Linked DNA regions of Homo sapiens: regions 1 and 2 are each linked to region 3. Evidence: promoter capture Hi-C in human tissues and cell types (Jung and others, 2019). All regions are on one chromosome and are shown on one strand. Each heading gives the region's core, a stretch centred on a gene start or on the middle of the fragment in contact. The rest is flanking DNA. Distances are from core to core; before and after follow the strand shown. Region 1 holds the start of ASF1B (anti-silencing function 1B histone chaperone). Region 2 has its middle 16 kb from the start of OR7C2. Region 3 holds the start of NDUFB7 (NADH:ubiquinone oxidoreductase subunit B7).

Region 1 (4,334 bases), core at 1,812-4,311, 440 kb before region 3:
CGTCATAGCAGGCACCTGTAATCCCAGCTGCTCGGGAGGCTGAGGCAGGAGAATCGCTTGAATCTGGGAGGTGGAGGTTGCAGTGAGCCAAGATCGCGCCATTGCACTCCAGCCTGGGGGACAAGAGCAAGACTTCATCTCCAAAAAAACAAAAAAAGGACCAGCAGGTTGAATTTAGCCCTTCCGGCTCTAATTCTATAAATAAGTTAGTAAAGTCACAGGGCAGGGGCTTCCTAGGAGTAGAAGTACCAGATAATGACCGCACAACCATTTTTTTTTTTTTTTTTTTTTTTTGAGACGGAGTCTCGCTCTGTCGCCCAGGCTGGAGTGCAGTGGCGCGATCTCGGCTCACTGCAAGCTCCGCCTCCCGGGTTCACGCCATTCTCCTGCCTCAGCCTCCCGCGTAGCTGGGACTACAGGCGCCCGCCACCACGCCCGGCTAATTTTTTGTGTTTTTTAGTAGAGACGGGGTTTCACCGTGTTAGCCAGGATGGTCTCGATCTCCTGACCTCGTGATCCGCCCGCCTCGGCCTCCCAAAGTGCTGGGATTACAGGCGTGAGCCACCGCGCTCGGCCACAACCATTTTTAAATGCAAGGAACACAAACAGGCTGATTGAAACCTGATCTCCTGCCGTCGGGGAGCTGGGAATCCCTCAACCTATTACTTCCTTCCATCTCCTCCTGGCTTTTAAATTAAATCTTATTCCACAGCGTCATTCTACACTTTATTTATTTATTTACCCGCTGCCTTGTTCCAGAAAGGATTTAACTCGGCATATTCTATAGTTAGCCACAAGTAGACTCCTTAATTTAAAAAGGAGCGAGAGAGACCGGGGAGAGACAGACCCACTGGCCTACCCAAAGCACATCCACATCTCACTCTATCAGCTCCAAGCTAGTCCAGGCGACCAGCTTTGAGGGCAAAACACCTACCTGCCCCCGAGAGGCACTAGTTAGCATATCCTGGCTTCACAGGCCCCCAGATCACCACCTCCTCGGCTGCTGCCTTTTCTCTTTCAACCACCAAGTAGAAAAATGGCCTAATGGAGTACTTCTTCCTGAAAGCAGGACTTGCCTGTTAGTGGTGCCAAGGCTCCCTAGGTGACCTTAGATTTTGGATTTGTACAGGCCTTGACTTGAAAGGTCTTTTGCGTTTTGTGGCTCCTGTCTTCTCATCTGTGAGATGAGAGCCATGCCCACCTTTAAGTCACACAGATTAATAAGTACATCTACGGAAGCACCTTGGAAAAGATGTACAGGAGGCTGTGACCTCCAAGCTCCAGCCGACTGTTTGAAGCTGGAGCCCGTCACAGCTCAGCCCAATCCACCCACCCCCCAGACTAGGTCAGACCATCAAAAGCAACGGGAGCTTGGCACTGATTATCCAGCTATATTAAAAAAAAAAAAGAAGAAGACGGGGCACGGTGGCTCACGCCTGTAATCCCAGCACTTTGGGAGGCCAAGGCGGGTGGATCACTTGAGGTCAGGAGTTCGAGACCAACCTGGCTAACATGGTGAAACGCTGCCTCCACTAAAAATACTAAAATTAGCTGGGCGTGGTGACAGGCGCCTGTAGTCCCAGCTACTCGGGAGGCTGAGGCAGAAGAATCGCTTGAACTCGGGAGGTGGAGGTTGCAGTGAGCCGAGATCGTGCCATTGCACTCCAGCCTGGGCAACAGAGTGAGACTGTCTCAAAAAAAAAAAAAAAAAAAAGAAGAGGAAGAAGAAGAAAGAAAAAGTGACAGAAAAATTGCTGCAGTAACTCAGCTGGAAACGGGTGGGCAAACCTGGAGAACTAGCTAATGCCTGCCTGGCTATGCCACCCCTCGGATCTCAGTGTGTTTATCCAAGCCCACAGAGAAAGGTGGGGAAGGGGAGCTGGGGAGACAAAGTTCCCCTCAAAGACGGTAGCATCCTTTCCCAGGGAGAGCTCAAGCATAGGGGGGTTGGGCCCCAACGAAGGAGAGAAACCAGGTTCCAGGGTATGTGCATTGGGGCAGAAAAGCGGCAGCAACTGGTGGGCGTGGGGTTATTGAAATATTGGCAGGTTGGGGAGGGGACTGGTGGGACACAAATGGGAAGATGGGGTTGAGAGAGGTCCTGAAAAGGGGTTGAGGGGTTTTCACAGGAAAAAAAGGTTACTGGAGGGGAGGGTCTTCACGGCAAGGAGAGAGGAGCTTGGGTGAGAGGTCTCCATAGGGAAAATAGGAGATGGCTGGGATTTCCCCCGGGGAAAATGGGAAGGGGCTGGATATTGGGGGTCTCCAGAGGGAAAATGGGAGGTGTGAGTATCTCACTACAGGAAAGAGGGAATAAGTGGGCAAAAATGGGTGGGTGGTTGAAGCGGGGGTCTTGCCACAGGGAAACCACGGTGGCTGAAGATCTCCGTGGGTTAAGAAATGGAGGCCGAGAAGGTCTCCCCATGAAAACGGGTACCTAGGAAGAGCTCCAGAGAAAAAAGATGGATGAGGTTCCCCACGCGGGAAATGGGGCTTGGAGGGGGTTAATCTCTATGGGGAGGTCGGGGCGGGCAGTGGGGGAAGAGGCCACTGGGAGGTCCGAGTTAGCTGGCGGGGGGTCTCCACCCGGGAGGTCAAGGCGGGCAGTGGGGGAGGAGGTCACGGGGAGGTCCGTGTTGGCTGGTGGCGGGGGGTCTCCACCGGGAGATCCGGTTGACTGGCGGGCTGGGGGAGATCGGGGTTGGCGGAAGGGGGACGAGGGGTTTCATGGGGGAGATCAAGTTGGCCATGGGAGCGGTTCTCTGAGGGGAGGCCGGGGTCGGCCCGGGGGTGGGGGTCCCCGCACAGGCCCAGCCTCACCGTCCGCCAGGGCTTCACTGCACTCGAAGCTGATCTCGAACCGGAAGGGGCTGTGGAAAGGGCTCGGGTTCTCCAGGACCGCCACGTTCAGCACCGACACCTTGGCCATCGCCTCGCCTCGCCGCGCCGCAGCAGGGGCAGGGGCTGTGGCTGTGGCGGAGGCCGCGCCTGGGTCCGGTGGGGTCAGTGGGGTAGGGCTGACCAGGTCCACTCCCGCCTCTTCTCTCCGAGAACTGAAGTGCGCACCTAGTCCGCGCGCCGCCTTCAAATAGCCGGCCTCCGCCCTCTGGCCAATCACCGCCAACGCTCCCTGGCGGCGCGCGCACCCCCTCAGCCAGTCCTGGAGCGCCGATCGGCGCGCGCCCAGACTCCTCGGACCAATCAGCGGAGCTCCCTCTCCGCAGCGTGTGAGGAGGGCGAAACTATCTCCAAGCTTCTTAGCGTGTCCGCTGGAAACCAATCCCCAGCGTCTCCGACTTGGATGTCAACGGCGGGAATGGACGGAGTCACAGCGCCGGCCTCCTTCTGGCCAATCCTGAGGGTTCCCGCACCGGCGTGGCCCGCCCCTCGCCTCGCTTTTCCGGGAGATGCATCCCGCAGCGCGCAGCGCCGCCACCCGCCGAGCGGTGGCGCGCGGCGCTCGCTAAAGAAGGCGGGAAGGGCGGTGCTCGCACCCGAAGTGATTGGCAGGAGGGAGTGGGGCGGAGATAAAGAGGGTTTTCTGAGAGTTTATTGGCTGGATTGGTAATGGTGGCGGGAGCAGAAGGAGGCTCAGCTGGGGATTCGCTGGAGAGAAGCGGAAGTCGAGCGCCACCGCGGTGTTGGCGAGTGTGAAGAGAGAGGAGGAGCGTTTGCGGCCTCAGCGTCTGTCAACAGGTGAGCGTTTCCTGGAGCTTTTCTGAGTGGCTCCTGACCCTTGAGGTCCAGCGGCGCGGGAGTCCGTTGTGAACGTTGCGAACGTTCGGAGTGGCGGTCACGAGGCGCGCTCAGACCTCGGGAATCCGGCCGGGTTCGGATCCCGCTTTCGCCCCCGAGGGGTTCGGATCCCGCTCTCGCCCCCGAGGGGTTCGGATCCCGCTCTCGCCCCCGAGGGGTTCGGATCCCGCTCTCGCCCCCGAGGGGTTTGGATCCCTCTCTCGCCCCCTTGAGGGCTCTTGGGAGGTTTCAAGCGGACGGTACTGAAAATGGGAGTTCCAGTTCGGGGGCAGACCAGTGTTCAGAGTCCGGGCTCTGCTACTCAGCGCCCGAGGCAGCGCCTCCCCATTCAACGGGGGCCGTGGCAATTCCCTGACATGATTCATGACCACATAATACATCCGGAAACTTCTCTCCACCGCCTCCCGTCTGGGCCGTCGCCCCCGGCCTGGGAGACTCCAGGTCTCAGAGTCTCTGCCCCCACGGGCGATCAGTGCTGCCCAGTGGAAAAATAATGCCAGCCGCGCACCAAAATTAGGTGTAAAATTAACATTTTTTGGAAGCCACTTTTTTTTTTTTGAGATGGAATCTCGCGCTGT
Region 2 (4,355 bases), core at 827-3,326, 350 kb after region 3:
CCAAGCAGTATACACTGCACATAATTTGTAGTCTTTTATCCCTCACCCCCTTCCCACCCTTTCCTCCTGAGTCCCCAAAGTCCATTGAGTCATTCTTATGCCTTTGCATCCTCATAACTTAGCTCCTACTTATGAGTGAGAACATACAATGTTTGGTTTTCCATTCCTGAGTTACTTCACTTAGAATAATTGTCTCCAGCTGGGCGCAGTGGCGCATGCCTGTAATCCCAGCACTTTGGGAGGCTGAGGCGGGCAGATCACCTTCGGTCAGGAGTTCGAGACCAGCCTGGTCAACAGGGTGAAACCCCATCTCTACTAAAACTATAAAAATTAGCCGGGCGTGGTGGCAGGTGCCTGTAATCCCAGCTACTCAGGAGGCTAAGACATGAGAATCACTTGAACGTGGGAGGTGGAGGTTGCAGTGAGCTGAGATCATGCCATTGCACTCCAGCCTGGGGGAAAAGAGGGAGACTTTGTCTCAAAAAAAAAAAAAAGAATAATTGTCTCCAATCTCATCCAGGTCACTGCGAATGCCATTAATTCATTCAAGCAAGCTATTTCTTCTTCCTAGTCTCCCAGGAATTATCTGAGGTTATTAGATTTTCCCCCCTTGGGTTTTATTTAATTATCCTCTGTATGTTTATCAAGCAAAATTGTTGTATTTTTATAATTTTTTATGTTTTTTTAAACAGAAGACAGAACATGACCATACAAAAAAATGGAAAGATAATCTGATATTGAAAGCTTGCTTCATTTCCATTCCTCTCTAATATTAATGGTGTGACTGGAGGTGAGAACAGCTTGCTATAAACACAGTCCCAGGAGTCCTCATTCAGCTTCAAGTGTGTGCCTGTGTGTGTGTCTGTACTAATTGTGCATATGTGTGTCTGTCTTTAGTGGGGAGAGTGATTTCAAAATAACATCATTAAACAGAATTGAAAGGAGCCTTGCTAATTAACTGAAACAAGATATGAAGTAGCAATAATTTAATGTTTTCAACATGGATAAATAATTAAAGTTGCAAAGACCTAGGCATAAAAGAATATGACATACAAATGAGGTAGAGATATCCCTTTTAAGAGTAGAGGGACGCAGTGGCTCACGCCTGTAGTCCCAGTACTTTGGGAGGCCGAGGCAGGCAGATCACGAGGTCAGGAGATCGAGACCATCCCGGCTAACATGGTGAAACCCTGCCTCTACTAAAAATGCAAAAAAATTAGCCGGGCGTGGTGGCGGGCGCCTGTAGTCCCAGCTACTTGGGAGGCTGAGTCAGGAGAATGGTGTGAACCTGGGAGGCGGAAGTTGCAGTGAGCCGAGATCGCGCCACTGAACTCCAGCCTGGGCAACAGAGCGAGACTCCGTCTCAAAAAAAAAAAAAAAAAAAAAAAAAGTAAAGGGACCTGGACTCAATATATTCCAAAAGGTGACTCAGAATACAGAGGTCAGCACGCAAGGCAGCATATGGAAATAAACAAAGGATGCATTTCAATTCATGGGACATGGAGCCAATTTATTAAAGTGCAAATAGAAAACATCAGGACAAGCCTGGGCGTGGTGGCTCACGCCTGTAATCCCAGCACTTTGGGAGGCCGAGACAAAAGGATCACTTGAGGTCAGGAGTTTGAGACCAGCCTGGCCAACATGGTGAAGCCCCATCTCTACCAAAAAATATAAATCTTAGCAGGGCATGGTAGCAGGCACCTGTAGTCTCAGCTACTTGGGAGGCTGAGGCAGGAGAATCTCTTGAACCCAGGAGGTGGAGGTTGCAGTGAACCCACATCATGCCACTGCACTCCAGCCTGGCCGACAGAGTGAGACTCTGTCTCAAAACCAAACCAAACCAAACAAAATCTGGGCAGAGGGACTTCTTGTATTTTGAAGCTTCAGCAGCAATGAAGTCACCTCATAGTGCAACATCTTCTGACACCATCTCCCATCACTTACCTCTCACAGATTTCCCTGCCACACTGGCTTCCTCGTTGGCCTTGAACATCTGAAACCTTCCTCTACACCTTTGCACCGGCCATTCTTTCTGCTGGGCACACACATTCCCAGATATCCTCATGGCTCCCGCCCTGTCTTCCTTGAGGTCTCATTTCTCTTTTTAAAAATTTCAGCTTTTCTTACAGATTAAAGGGTACATGTGCAGGTTTGTTACACGGGTAAATTGTGTGATGCTGAGGCTTCGGGTCCTAACAATCCCATCACTCAGGAGGTAAGCATAGGACCCAACAGATGGTTCTTCAGCTCACATCCCCCTCCCTCCATCCTCTGTCCAGCGGTCTCCAGTGTCAATTGTTCCCATCTTTGTGTTCACGTATATTCGATGTTTAGCTACCATTTATAAGTGAGAACATGCGATATTTGGTTTTCTGTTCTTGCATTAGGTCGCTCAGAATAACGGCCTCTAGCTTCATCCATGTAGCTGGAAAGGACATGATTTCATTCTTTTTTATGGCTGCCTAGTATTCCATGGTGTATAAGTACCACAGTTTCTTTGTCCAATCCACTATTGATGGGCACCTATCACCTTGACTGCTAGTATTCTCTGGACACCTAGGAAAATTAACATCCTCTATCCACCCTCGCCTTTTTACCTTCTTTCTTTTTCTTGCTAGCCCTGGTTACCATCTGACACAGTATATGATTTACTTGTATTCTTCTCCATACTTCACTGTAGGAACTTTTGTTTTTCAGCACTGTTCACTCATTGTCTAGACAGAGCCTGGAACGTTGACAACACTCAATTTAAATTCCTCAAATCCATGAAAGAATTTATCATTAAAGTATTGGTTTTTGTTTTGTTTTGTTTTGTTTTGTTTGAGATGGAGTTTTGCTCTTGTAGCCCAGGCTGGATGGAGTGCAATGGCGCCATCTTGGCTCCCTGCAACCTCTGCCTCTCAGGTTCAAATGATTCTCCTGCCTCAACCTCCCGAGTAGCTGGGATTACGGGCACGCACCACCACATCCGGCTAACTTTGTATTTTTAGTAGAGATGGGTTTTCTCCATGTTGGTCAGGCTGGTCTTGAACTCCCGACCTCAGGTGACCCGCCCACCTCTGCCTCCCAAAGTGCTGGGATTACAGGTGTGAGCCACCGCACCCGGCAAAGTTTTTAAATAAATGACCATTTGGGGAAAAGTTGAGCATCATGGGAAAGGAATTCCTAAGCAGAGATGGGATGGGAGATCTCATAAAGTAGACCAGATTCACACACAAAATATAGAAATTAACTTGCTGACTGTAGGATATAAATAATAGCTTTTCTGATGGGTGAAAAAAGCATGCTTATGTCATGTATTTTCTCTCTCTCTCTTTTTTTTTTTTTTATAGTCACCTCTACCACATGGAACCAGAGAATGATACACGAATTTCAGAATTTCGACTTCTGGGATTTTCAGAAGAACCCAGACTGCAACGATTTCTCTTTGGTAAAAGGCAAAAGATTTATACAATTTGAAGAGAAACCAGAGCATAACGATTTCTCTTTGGAGTGTTCTTATCCATGTACCTCATCATTGTATTTGGAAACTTGCTTATCATCCTGGTTATCATTTTATGCTCCCACCTCCACACCTCCATGTACTTCTTTCTCTCCAACCTGTCCTTTGTAGACATCTGTTTTGCCTCCACCAGGGTCCCAAAGATGCTGGTGAATATCCAGGCACAGAGCAAAGTCATCACCTCTGCAGGCTGCATCACCCAGATGTACTTTTTCATACATTTTGTAGGATTGGACAGCTTCCTCCTGACTGTGATGGCCTATGACCGGTTTGTGGCCATCTGTCACCCCCTGTACTACACGGTCATCATGAACCCTCAACTCTGTGGATTGCTGGTTCTGGTATCCTGGATCACAAGTGTCTTGCATTCCTTATTACATAGCTTAATGGTGCTGCAGTTGTCCTTATGCAGAGAGTTGGAAATCCCCCACTTTTTCTGTGAACTTAATCAGGTCATCCACCTTGCCTGTTCTGACACCTTTCTTAATGACATGGTGATGTATCTGGCAGCTGTGCTGCTGGGTGGGGGGATGTCTCGCTGGGATCCTTTACTCTTACTCTAAGATAGTTTCCTCCATATGTGCAATCTCATCAGCTCAAGGGAAGTATAAGGCATTTTCCACCTGTCCGTCTCACCTCTCAGTTGTCTCCTTGTTTTACTGTACAAGCCTAGGAGTGTACCTTAGCTCGGCTGCATCCCACAACTCACACTCAGGTGCAATAGCCTCAGTGAGGTACACTGTGGTCACCCCCATGCTGAACCCCTTCATCTACAGCCTGAGGAATAAGGACATAAAGAGGGCTCTGAAGAATTCTTTGGGAGGGAAACTAGAAAAGGGCCAGTTGTCCTAGG
Region 3 (4,381 bases), core at 1,053-3,552:
TCGCCCACTCAGTAGACAGTGTGACCTTTTGACCAACCAAAACTGATTGTGTCCCTCCTCTGCTTAGAAGCTTGGCTCTGCCACCTCTCTTTGGTCAACCCCTACTCATGCCCCTTCACATCTTTGTTTTGTTTTGTTTTGTTTTTTCAGACAGTCTCGCTCTGTCACCCAGGCTGGAGTGTGGTGGCCTGACCTTGGTTCACTGCAACCTCTGCCTCCTGGGTTCCAGCCAATTCTCCTGCCTCAGCCTCCCAGACAGCTGGGATTACAGGCATGCGCCACCACACCTGGCTAATTTTTGTATTTTTAGTAGAGTAGAGACGGGGTTTCACCATGTTGGCCAGGCTGGTCTCAAACTCCTGACCTCAGGTGATCCACCGGCCTTGGCCTCCCAAAGTGCTGGGATTACAGGCATAAGCCACCGTGCCCGGCTTAATTTTTGTATTTTGTTTTTGAGATGGAGTCTTGCTCTGTCGCCCAGGCTGGAGTGCAGTGGTGTGATCTCGGCTCACTATAACCTCTGCCTCCTGGGTTCAAGCGATTCTCCTGCCTCAGCCTCCTGAGTAGCTGGGACTACAGGTGTGCACCACCACGCCCCTGGCTAATTTTTGTATTTTTAGTAGAGACAGGGTTTCACCACATTGGCCAGGATGGTCTCAATCCCCTGACCTCGTGATCTGCCCGCCTCGGCCTCCCAAAGTGCTGGGATTATGGGTGTGAGACACCATGCCCGGCCTCAATTTTTATATTTTTAGTAGAGATGGTGTTTCACCATGTTGGCCAGGCTGGTCTCAAACTCCTGACCCCAGGTGATCTGCCCGCCTTAGCCTCCCAAAGTGCTGGGATTACAGGCATGAGCCACCACGACCGGCCACCCTTCACGTCTTTGTTTCCAGCCACTGCCTCTTGGAAGCCTGCTTTGACACCCCCAGCTCTGCCTGATTCCACAATCTTTCCCACTGTGCTGAGTTCTCTGGAGACAGTGCCTGCATCCCTCCAGTTCCCTGCTGTATCCGCGGTGCCTAATGTGGGACGTGGCCCAGAGCTGGTGCTCGGTATGCCTGTGATATTACTACATTAAAAGCAAAAACAAACACACGAACCAAAAAACCATCCTGGGCGTAGTGGCTCACATCTTCAATCCCAGCACTTTGGGAGGCTGGGCAGAAGGATCGTTTGAGCCCAGGAGTTTGAGACCAGCCTGGGCAACACAGCAAGACCCCCAACTCTACAAAAAATAAAAAATCAGTCTGGCATCCTGGGGCGCTCCTGTAGTCCCAGCTACTCGGGAGGCTGAGGCGGGAGGATCATTTGAGCCCAGGAGGTCGAGGATGCAATGAGCTGTGATTGTGCCACTACACTCAGCCTGGGCAACAGAGCAAGATCCCGTCTCAAAGCAAAACAAAGCACTTTGCAGGACAGTATTTGCAGCTCGAATCTTCCTTATTTCCTTGTGCATACCCCACAATTGCAGTGACATCAGGAAGGGGGTACAATGAACGTGTCCCTGCCCTCCCATGACTCCCCACGTCCCCCAAGACTTGGCCCGAGGCCGGGCGTGGTGACTGACTTCTGCGATCCCAGCACTTGGGGAGGCCGAGGCGGGCGGATCACTTGAGGTCAGGAGTTCAAGAGCAGCCTGGCCAACAAGGAGAAACCCCGTCTCTACTAACAATACAAAAAAGTAGCTGGGCATGGTGGTACACATCTGTAATCACAGCTACTCGCGAGGCTGAGGCAGGAGAATCGCTTGAACCCGGGAGGTGGAGGCTGCCAGTGAATCGAGACCAAGCCACTGCACTCCAGCCTGAAAGAAAAAGCGAGACTCCGTCTCAAAAGAAAAAAAAAAAAGACTCGACCCAGCTCTGCGCGTCGCATTCCTGCCCGAACCCCCACTTGTCGCCTCACTTTTGCTCCCTGGCTTTTGCTCAAGCCGTGCCCTTGGGCTGGAACGCCTCCACACTGAGGTGGGGTCATGCACGTCCTGTGGACTCCTAGTCTAGACCCAAACCCAGATACAACACCTGAGGTTAGAGCCCAGCCCTGGGGTGCCAGCCCTGGGGTGCCAGGTGTTCAGGCACCCGCGCCCCACGCCCTCTGGCTGCGCCTGCGCACTGGGCCTCACCGCGCTCCTTGCGTTCGGGGAAGCCGTAGTCTGGCGGGAAGGTTGGCATCTGCAGGGGGTCGGGCTCCACCGAGGCATCGCCCAGGTAGCGCCGGACCAGGTGGGCCCCCATGGCTGCAGTCGCTGCAGATCCCTGCAGCAGCCGAGGGTCACCTAGCTCCTACCCGGAACCACTGACCCCTCAGTCAGACACAGCTTCCGGGTCATTTAGGCAGCTGCGGAGATCATAGAGATGAAGGACTCCAGAGGATCGCTCCGGTCCGCCTGGCGTCACCTCGCGGACAGGCGGAGGCGGGACAGGTGCTGTGTCTCTTCGCAGGATATGGTTGGACCCGAGAGGGGACTTCCCTGAGCCTGGAAATCCATCTGGGCGGGGCAGAAGGGGACGGTGTGGGACTGAGGCCTCCCTCGACCCTATCTGGGGCTCTTCTGGTAGCCCGAGGCTAAAGCACATATTAAAATTATTTTTCATATCATTTTCCAAAAAGTTTTTTCTTTGAAAACATTCAAATTTCTCTTAAAAAAGGCACGATATCTATTATATCGTTAATGTATGTAATTTTGCATAAAGTCACTTTAAGAATTTTTTGTTTTTGGAGACACAGTACCTGTCGCCCAGACTGGAGTGTATTGGCGCGATCTCGGCTCACTGCAGCCTCCACCTCCTGGGCTCAAATTCTCTTGCCTCAGCCTCCTGAGTAGCTGGGATTACAGGCGCCCGCCACCACCCCCAGCTAATTTTTGTATTTTTAGTAGAGACGGGGTTTCGCCAGTTGGCCAGGCTGGTCTCGAACCCCTGACCTCAAGTGATTCCCCCGCCTCAGCCTCCCAAATTGCTGGGATTACGGGCATGAGCCACAGTGCCTGTCCAAGAAAGATTTTGATAAATTTAATTTAAATAAAAGTTATTCATAAATACAGTTATTATTATATTATTATTTTTTGAGATAGGGTCTCATTCTGTCGCCCAGGCTGGAGCACAGTGGCACAATCATAGCTCACTGCAACCTTGAACTCTTGGGCTCCAGGGATCCTCCCGCCTCAGCCTCTCAAAGTGTTGGGATTATGGGCGTAAGCCACTGTGCCTGGTCAAAAACAATTATTTAAAGCTGAAATTTCAAATAAATTATATATATATATGCAATCTTTATACAATTTTAAAATATATTAATATCTAATATTAATATCTAATATATATTTTTCCCCAGTCTGACAAAGCATGTATTAGGCATCTACTGTATGGTATGCTGGGTCCAGTGGTCAGACAGAAAGGCAGACGTGGTTCCTGTCTTTCAAGCTTACAGTCTAATGGAACAGAAAAACAGTCTAATGGAAAAAAAAAAATATGGGCCAGGGCAGTGGCTCACACCTGTAATCTCAGAGCTTTGGGAAGCTGAGATGGGAGGATCGCCTGAACTCAGGAGTTTGAGACCAGCCTGGGCAATATAGGGAGACTCTATCTCTACAAAAAAAAAAAAAAAAAAAAAAGCTGGGTGTGGTGGTGCACGCTTGTAGTCCCAGCTACTCGGGAGGCTGAGGCAGGAGGATAACTTGAGCCCAGGAGTTCCAGGCTGCAGTGAGCCGTGATCCCATCACTGCACTCCAGCCTAGGCAACAGAGTGAGACCCTGTCTATAAAAATTCCCAGGTGATGTGATGTTGCTGGTCTAGTGACCAGCTTTGGGAGAATTACTCAACTAGATCTTTATGTGTTGACATGGGGAAGTGGCTGCTGATATATTAAGTGAAAAAAGCAAGCTATTGAGAATAGACAACTGGCAATAGAGACTTTTCTTTTTCTTTCTTTTTTTTTTTTTTTTTTGAGACAGAGTTTCACTCTTGTTGCCCAGGCTGGAGTGCAGTGGTGTGATCTCGGCTCACCGCAACCTCCGCCTTCTGGTTTCAAGCGATTCTCCTGCCTTAGCCTCCTAAGTAGCTGGGATTACAGGTGGGTGCCATCACGGCCAGCTAATTTTTTTTTTTTTTTTTTTGAGACGGAGTCTTGCTCCGTTGCCCAGGCTGGAGTGCAGTGGCGCAATCTCGGCTCACTGCAAGCTCCGCCTCCCGGGTTCACGCCATTCTCCTGCCTCAGCCTGCCGAGTAGCTGGGACTACAAGCGCCCGCCACCACGCCCGGCTACTTTTTTTGTATTTTTAGTAGAGACGGGGTTTCACCGTGTTAGCCAGGATAGTCTTGATCTCCTGACCTTGTGATCCGCCCGCCTTGGCCTCCCAAATAATTTTTTTGTATTTTTAGT

The links. The method cuts DNA at HindIII sites, captures the fragments that hold promoters and counts their contacts. A contact is called where the count stands out against the background at its distance.
Region 1: the fragment with the promoter of ASF1B here is called in contact with the fragment with the promoter of NDUFB7 in region 3 in 1 of the 25 tissues and cell types used here (spleen).
Region 2: a contact is called between a fragment that was not itself captured here and the fragment with the promoter of NDUFB7 in region 3, in 5 of the 25 tissues and cell types used here (H1 embryonic stem cells, adrenal gland, mesendoderm cells and 2 more).

What each region holds. Positions count from the first base shown.
Region 1 is chr19:14,133,528-14,137,861 of GRCh38, forward strand. ASF1B (anti-silencing function 1B histone chaperone) reads right to left here and starts at 3,062. Exons shown (of 4, transcript NM_018154.3): 1 at 2,821-3,062. The coding sequence starts at 2,929. It overlaps ADGRL1-AS1 (ADGRL1 antisense RNA 1), which reads left to right and starts at 3,625. Exons shown (of 3, transcript NR_045214.1): 1 at 3,625-3,696. RefSeq lists a silencer at 2,828-2,877 and enhancers at 3,208-3,347, 3,425-4,051, 3,548-3,707. The HindIII fragment of the contact is 6,304 bases long and covers 1,209-4,334 here.
Region 2 is chr19:14,923,707-14,928,061 of GRCh38, forward strand. It overlaps the pseudogene OR7A15P. Among named protein-coding and RNA genes, the nearest start is that of OR7C2, 16 kb to the right of the region's middle. The HindIII fragment of the contact is 7,045 bases long and covers 1-4,355 here.
Region 3 is chr19:14,569,764-14,574,144 of GRCh38, forward strand. NDUFB7 (NADH:ubiquinone oxidoreductase subunit B7) reads right to left here and starts at 2,303. Exons shown (of 3, transcript NM_004146.6): 1 at 2,126-2,303. The coding sequence starts at 2,237. RefSeq lists an enhancer at 2,235-2,524. The HindIII fragment of the contact is 12,939 bases long and covers 1-4,381 here.